2 separate regions of the Homo sapiens genome follow, and region 1 is linked to region 2. The links are contacts of gene promoters, found by promoter capture Hi-C in blood cells and fetal thymus (Javierre and others, 2016). All regions are on one chromosome and are shown on one strand. The core of a region is centred on a gene start or on the middle of the fragment in contact, and the rest is flanking DNA. Distances in the headings are between cores, read along the strand shown. Region 1 overlaps LOC105369519 (a long non-coding RNA gene). Region 2 holds the start of NHERF4 (NHERF family PDZ scaffold protein 4).

The links. The method cuts DNA at HindIII sites, captures the fragments that hold promoters and counts their contacts. A CHiCAGO score of 5 or more calls a contact.
Region 1: a fragment that was not itself captured here is called in contact with the fragment with the promoter of NHERF4 in region 2 in 1 of 17 cell types (naive B cells); the score reaches 5.2 in naive B cells.

Annotation. Positions count from the first base shown.
Region 1 is chr11:118,701,949-118,705,649 of GRCh38, reverse strand. LOC105369519 (a long non-coding RNA gene) reads right to left here. Exons shown (of 4, transcript XR_007062909.1): 3 at 812-1,042. It also overlaps the pseudogene RNU6-376P. Among named protein-coding and RNA genes, the nearest start is that of TREH, 24 kb to the right of the region's middle. RefSeq lists an enhancer at 435-936. The HindIII fragment of the contact is 1,242 bases long and covers 1,831-3,072 here.
Region 2 is chr11:119,183,878-119,187,931 of GRCh38, reverse strand. It overlaps NHERF4 (NHERF family PDZ scaffold protein 4), which reads right to left and starts at 2,457. Exons shown (of 11, transcript NM_001168468.2): 1 at 2,422-2,457; 2 at 1,980-2,007; 3 at 1,767-1,840; 4 at 1,242-1,453; 5 at 473-662; 6 at 232-368. The coding sequence starts at 2,437. NLRX1 (NLR family member X1) reads right to left here. Exons shown (of 10, transcript NM_001282144.2): 10 at 3,916-4,054. The HindIII fragment of the contact is 1,731 bases long and covers 2,355-4,054 here.

The DNA of each region.
Region 1 (3,701 bases), core at 1,202-3,701, 480 kb after region 2:
CACCGCACTTGCATGAGGCCCTTCAAACACCCTCATCCTAATTTTGTATTCATAATTTGATTCTTTTTCTTAAAGAGGCCTCCCCAAATTATTTAAGCTTCAGGTCCCACAAAACCAAGCTCCGCCCTCTGGCAAGTGATTATTTTGCCTCCTCTCCAGTACACAATGAGATTCTGTTTGGGACACTTCAGTGACCTTTTTGTCTGCCCGCTTACCCCATCAGAATTTACATACATTCTGGGTTCATACAAACAAAATAACGGCTCAGAGGAGACGTGAGCTGTGCTCCGTGACAGTGGCAAGGCTGCAGCCTTGGCCACAATGAGAGCTCTCGCTCTCTGGGCTTCACCCATAATAAGGACACGTGAATGGGTGGGATGACAGACAGGAAACACTTCCCCAGCTTCCACCGGGGCAGGGCATGCAACCACAGCAACCACAGGGCATGGGGCGATTATTTGACTTCCAAGTCCAAATTAGAACATCACAACCAGCTGGGCGTGGTGGCTCAACGCCTGTAATTCCAGCACTTTGGGAGGCCAAGGCGGGTGGATCACCTGAGGTCAGGAGTTCGAGACCAGCCTGGCAAACATGGTGAAACCTCGTCTCTACTAAAGATACAAAAATTAGCCAGGCATGGTGGCGGGCACCTGTCCCAGCTACTCAGGAGGCTGAGGCAGGAGAATCGCTTGAACCTGGGAGGCAGAGGTTGTGGTGAGCCAAGATTGTGCCACTGCACTCCCAGCCTGGGTGACAGAGACTCTGTCTCAAAAACAAAAACAAAAAAATCACAACCACCATTAACCACTACCTCGAAACTCTGTGGCTTCACATCGTGGAGTGGGAGTTGTCCTCAGCTCCTCATGCCAGGGGTAAAGATTCTTCATTATTCAAAAAAGGTGCCATCTGATTTGCTTCAGAAGTCTAACATTTTGTGAACCCTTTGACACTGCCGTTCCAGGTTCAGGAGTCTGTTGTAAGGAAATAATACTACAGTGCATAAAGACATGAGTACTCAGGCGTTCATTCTCCCCAGCGCTGTCTGTAAGAAAAAAAGGAATAAACTAAAATGTTTATGTTTATTCAGTGCTTAGTGATAAATAATTAAATAAATGTTGACACATCCACATAGTAGAATGCTGTGAGGCCATTAACATTAGAAGGTGGTAGAAAACATAATAACAGCCGTGCACGGTGGCTCGTGCCTGTAAATCCCAGCACTTTGGGAGGCCTAGGCGGGCAGTATCACCTGCAGGTCAGGAGTTCAAGACCAGCCTGGCCAACGTGGCGAAACCCCATCTCTATTAAAAATACAAAAATTAGCCAGGTGTGGTGGTACATGCCTGTAGTCCCAGCTACTCAGGAGGCTGAGGCAGGAGAATCACTTGAACCTGGGAGGCAGAGGTTGCAGTGAGCCAGGATGGGGCCACGGCACTCCAGCCTGGGCCAGCAAAGTGAGACTCCATCTGAAAAAAAAAAAAAAAAAAAAAAACCAAGAAAAGAAAAGATACTGACATGGAAAGGTAAACATGGTATGAATAGACCCAGGGATGGGCCCTGTGGTCCCACTCCCTGGTGTTCACACCCTGTGTAACCTCCTCCCCTGGAGCGCCGGTAGGACCTGCAACTTACTTCCAGCTAATAGACTGTGAAAAAGGTGAGGGGGTTTTGCAGACATAATTAGGGTCCTAAGTCAGTTGATTTTGAAGTCAAGGGGGCATTTTCATGGGTGGGCCTGACTAAATCAGGTGGAAGTCTTTGAAAGAGTGTCTGGGCCCTCTCAGAGGGTCAGAGACTCTCCGTCTATTACTGGCTTTGAAGAAGTAAGCTTCTCTGTGGTGACAGGGCCACTCAACAAGGAACTACTGTAGTCTCTAGTTGCTAAGGGCCATCCCTGGCTGACAGCCAACAAGAAAACATGAACCCCAGTTCTAGTCTTACAACCATAAGGAGAAGAATTCTGCCAACAGTCTGAGGGAGCTTGGGGGCCAATATTAAGCCTTAGATGAGACCAGCTGAGCCTCAGATGAGACCATAGCCCCAGCCAGCACCCGGACAGCAGCCTGGTAAAGCTCTGAAGCGGAGAACCTAGGTGAGCTGGGCCCAAATTTCTGCCCTCAGAAAAAGATGTGTGTTGTTTTAAGTTCCTTATCATGTGAAAAACAAAGAGCAGGTTATGAAATAATGTGTAGCAAAATCCCATTTTTGACTTGGAAAATGGGATCTTGACACATACTTAGGAAAAAACCTGAAACAAATACCAAAACACAGATGTTATATAAGGACTACAAAGGTATTATAAAATAGGATTAGAAAGTCTAGATACTTCAGGAATTAAAAGCATAAGAAAAGAGTAAAATACTATGACTAGGTACCATGGTTTGAATGTTGTCCTCTCTGCAATTTACATTGAAACTTCATCCCCACTGTGTCAGTGTTTTTTTTTATTTATTTATTTTATTTATTTATTTTTTGAGATGGAGTATTGCTCTGTCGCCAGGCTGGAGTGCAGTGGCGAGATCTCGGCTCACCACAACCTCTGCCTCCTGGGCTCAAGTGCTTCTCCTGCCTCAGCCTCTCCAGTAGCTGGGACTACAGGCGCATGCCACCACACCGGGCTAATTTTTTGTATTTTTAGTAGAGACGTGTTTTCACCATGTTAGCCAGGATGGTCTGGATCTCCTGACCTCATGATCCGCCCGCCGCGGCCTCCCAAAGTGCTGGGATTACAAGCATGAGCCACTGCACCAGGCCTAATTTAATTAATTTTCAAGTAAACTAATTAAGTGAAGATACAAAGTTGCAGAGAAAGAACATCTAGATTAGGCTGAGGCTGGGCACCTAACAGTTAATACCCTTTCATTTGTAATTGACATAGAAATATATTTAAATTGGCTTAAACAACAAGAAGCAGTTACTGCTCGTGTTACTGAAAATGAATGTGGTTGAATTCAGGTGGGAAACGATGCAGCTTTCAACCAGGCTTCAGGATCTGCTCCCTTTAAATCTCAGCTCTGCTCTTCTCCATGCTAGCTTCATTCCCAGGCTCTTTCTCTAACTAAAATGTAAGCTTAGGCCAGGCATGGTGGCTCATGCGGGAGGATCGCTTGAAGTCAGGAGTTCAAAACCAGCCTGGGAAACATAGTGAGACCCTGTCGCTATAAAATAAAATGTAAATGTATTGCTATTTTTATTTTATTTTTTTAATATGGAACACTTCATGAATTTGCACATCATCTTTGTGCTGGGGCCGTGCTAATCTTCTCTGTATTGTTCCAGTTTTAGCATATGTGCTGTGAACCAAGCACTGTGAATGTAAATAAAATAAAATAAAATATCACTATCATGAGGATAGTGACTTTCTCTTTTTTGTTCACTATTTAATCCCCAACACTTAAAATCGTATTTTTATTACTGCACATCATAAGCACCAAAAAAATTTCCAGGAAAAAAAGGAGGGGGCCAGGAGTGGTGGCTTATCCCTATAATCTCAACACTTTGGGCAGGAGGAGCTCTTGAGCCCAGGAGTTCAAGACCGCCCTGGGCAACAAAGTGAGACACTGCCTCTACAAAAATAAAAATTAAAAAAGAAAGAAAAGAGGAAAAGAAGGCGGAGGTATAGCAGCACAACAATTCTGGAGCAGAATAAATAAGACTATGTTAAATACATTTTAGAGAAACCGAATAACACTGAAGACAAA
Region 2 (4,054 bases), core at 1,208-3,707:
ACCCAGCAGGGCATCAGTATAACACCTGGGCAGGGAGAGAAGAGGTATGCTCCCCCCACAGCCCCTCCTCCCAGGCACTAAGTGGAGCCTGGCACAAACTGTAGAGGGGGAGGATGGTGATAAAGGTAGGAGACCAGATAAGGAGGTTAGGCGCATGGGGAAGGAGGCGTCTTCCCGAGGTGGGGCCCAGGCCCGGATTGGGGGAGGAGAGTGGGAGACAGGCAGTCACACCTTCCTGGTGAGTTGGTTGTGAGTGAACTTCTCCACACTGACCCCATTCACTTCCAGCAGCCGGGCCCCGGGGGGCACCCCTGCCCGCTCAGCTGCTCCTCCAGTACTTAGCACCAACCAGAAAGGACCCTGATTGCCTAGAAATTAAAAAAAAAAGCAAGGTCCAGTCTGTTTCCTGCCTGCCCTGAACAGGGGCTGAGATCCCTCATCCTTGCCGCCCCCTCGCACCCTCTGGGCTCACCATGGGTGACACTGAAGCCAAAACCACCCTCATCTTTCACTATGTGGCACAGCCGGGGCCGGACCCCTGGGCCTAGGGTGGGACAGAGGTGGGCATCTTCTCCCAGCTGAGCTCGGGCCACGTCATGTGCATGCCGTGCCAATACTGTCAGCAACACCCGAGGGCTGCTGGCCCGGATGCGGCGTACCACCTGGACAGAGGGCACGTGGGCGTGGGTTTGGTCTAGACCCTCTTGCCAACCCCCAGGACCTCCCTGGAATCCACATTTTTTTGCCAAGGGAATCGGCTTTTTTTCTTTTTCTTTTTTTTTTTTTTTTTTGAGATGGAGTTTTGCTCTTGTCGCCCAGGTTGGAGTGCAATGGTGCGATCTCAGCTCACCGCAACCTCCGCCTCCCATGTTCAAGTGATTCTCCTGCCTCAGCCCTCCCGAGTAGCTGGGATTACAGGCGCCTGCCACCACGCCCAGCTAATTTCTGTATTTTTAGTAGAGACAGGGTCTTGCCATGTTGGCCAGGCTGGTCTTGAACTCCTGACCTTGGGTGATCCACCTGCCTTGGCCTCCCAAAGTGCTGGGATTACAGGCGTGAGCCACTGCGCCCAGCGGGAATCGGCTTTCTAGATGCTTTCCCTACCCCTCTGACTTGGGCACTTCTAAATCCTGGGGTGTGGGGGAGTGAGGCTTGTGCCCTGCTGCCATACTGCCCAGGGGACTGAGCAACCCGCTTCTCTTTCTGAGGTGCTAGCATGCTCTCCTGGACCACAGCCTTACCACCGCATAGTCTTCGTGTTCCACAACATCATTGTTCACCGCCAGGATCCTGTCTCCTTCCTGAAGACCCTGGCGCTGGGCAGAGGTGCCTGGGTCCACCCTGCACACCACATGCCCAGCCCTGCCCAGCTCCTGCTGCAGGTGGAAGCCAAAACTCTTGCCCTCCTCTTTGCTCAGTAAACAGAAGCGAGGCCGCTCCAGGCTCCAGGGATCTGGAGGGTGAGGTGGGCAGCAGAAAAGGGGGAGGAGAGGGCACAGCCCAAGTACAGGTTCGCCGTGTGCCTGGCAGACCCTGTGTCCTGATAGGGTGCTGGGCAGTTTCTGCCTGGTTGGGTGTTGGGTGGTGGGGTTCGTGGGCAGAGGGACTGGGACAGGAGAAAACACCCGGCCCCTCCTATCTCTACTCCCAACCAAGGCTGTTATCAGAGGGAGACCGAGTGAGTGGTTACCAAGGAGATCGGAGGCCGTGTGGAGCCGTGGTGCCTCCAGGGATAGGGAATGGTTGCCAGGGGGTGAGGGAGTTACCATAGGGGTCGTGGTCTTCGGCCAGGGAGAGGACAGGATTATCAATGCCCAGCTTTGGGTTAAACTTAAACTTCCTGCAAGGAGGCAGGGGAAGCAGGTACAAGCTGGCAGCTGGACTTGGGTCCCAGGATCTCCTTTAGGTGCTAATGGCAGTGAAGCGCTTCGCTGCCTCCAATTATTTCCTCCCCTTGCCCCAACCCTCGTGGCACTTACAGAGTTAACGAGGCTGTGTCCTGCAGATCTACTGGGCAAAGAAGTGGGTGAGAGGAGGAGAGTCACATTCTTCTCCCCAGATGTGCCTCTTCCATTGGCATAAACTAAAAGGACTCAGGGAAACCCCCAAACTCAGGGCATGCCCCCTCCTTTCTGCTCCAAAGGGGTCTTCTCTTCTCACTGCCATACACACAGGACTATTGTGCGGTCCCCTCCCTTTCTCTCCCCCCAAGTCCTTGGCACATAAATCTGAGCATATCAGTACAGGGTGTGGACCAGGAAGACAGACATATCAACTCATTACTTTTCTCCTGACTTGTTTACCTGCCTCAGGGCTCCAAGCCCCAAAATCAAGTGTGCCCTGGTCCCAAAGCTTCAGCCTCCAAGTCGGCCCCCTGCCTGTCCCAAAGTCCCCTGCAGAGGATTTCTCCTGGCCTCCTACCTGCGGCTTTCTCCATAGCTGGATCAGCAACCCAGTGCCCGGGGTAGGGACAAGGTTCATCACAGCCACTGATCCTCCCACCCATCCCCTCCCAGGTCCCGCCTCCTTGAAGACGCTGTGGAAGCAGTGGGGTAATGGTTAACGGGAGTGAGAGTCTTTTTTTTTTTTTTTTTTTTTTTTTTTTTTTGAGACCGAGTTTAGCTCTTGTTGCCCAGGCTGGAGTGCAATGGCATGATCTTGGCTCATCATAACCTCTGCCTCCCAGGTTCAAGCAATTCTCCTGCCTCAGCCTCCCGAGTAGCTGGGATTACAGGCATGCACCACCACACCTGGCTAATTTTGTATTTTTAGTAGAGATGGGGTTTCTCCATATTAGTCAGGCTGGTCTCAAACTCCCCACCTCAGGTGATCTGCCCTCATCGGCCTCCCAAAGTGCTGGGATTACAGGCGTCAGCCACCGTGCCCCGCTGAGAGTCTTATCCTCTGGAAAACTGTGTGGGTTCCTCCTGAATCTATCCCTGGGCCCCAACTTTTTCTGGAGACCCTGAATCTGACCCAGTTGCCCCTCTGTGCAGAGAAAGGCAGATTGCTGGTCACTAACTCCAAGCCTGGGGGGTAAGTGTGAAAAGGGTGATAATTCTATGGCCCATAGTATGGTTTGGCTGTGTCCCTACCCAAATCTCATCTTGAATTGCAGCTCCCATAACTCCCTCGTGTCATGGGAGGTACCCGGTGGGAGGTAATTAAATCACAGGGGCAGGTTTTCCCGTGCTGTTTTCATGATAGTGAATAAGTCTCATGAGATTTGATGGTTTTATAAAGGGGAGTTCCCCGGCACACACTCTCTTGCCTGCTGCTATGTAAGATGTGACTTTGCTCCTCATTTGCCTTCTGCCACGATTGTGAGGCCTCCCCAGCTATGTGGAACTGTGAGTCAATTAAACCTCTTTCGTTTATAAATTTTTTTTTTGACAGAGTTTCACTCTTGTTCTCCAGGCTGGAGTGCAGTGGCACTATCTCGGCTCACGGCAACCTCCACCTCCTGGGTTCAAGCAATACTCTTGCTTCAGCCTCTCGAGTAGCTGGGATTACAAGCATGTGCCATCACACCCAGCTAATTTTGTATTTTTAGTAGAGACGAGGTCTATCCATGTCGGTCAGGCTGGTCTCAAACTCCTGACCTCAGGTGATCCGCTCACCTCGGCCTCCCAAAGTGCTGGGATTACGGGCGTGAGTCACCATGCCCAGCCTCCTTTATAAATTACTTACCCTGTCTTGGGTATGTCTTTATTAGCAGCGTGAGACTGGACTAATACAGCCCAGCATGGCCAACCCCCATGCCAATATCTTGTTCATGGGCCCTTCCAGCCTCCACTGCCTCTGAACCTAGTGCCCAAGAACCACTTGCAATAGATCATGGTTGGTAGTTTAACCAGAAAGACCAAGAACAGTGCCCTTTCTTGGAAGCACCAGGCAGTAAAGAAGAGGCCACAATTGGTAGAAGGCACACGGCTTTTTAATAGCAGCAAGTCAGGTGCATCTGCCTCGAGGGGCTACCAAGCCATCATACCATTGTGGCAAAGGGGGCATGAGGATGAGGAGAAAGCACCAATGTGAGGGCATCCTCGGTGTC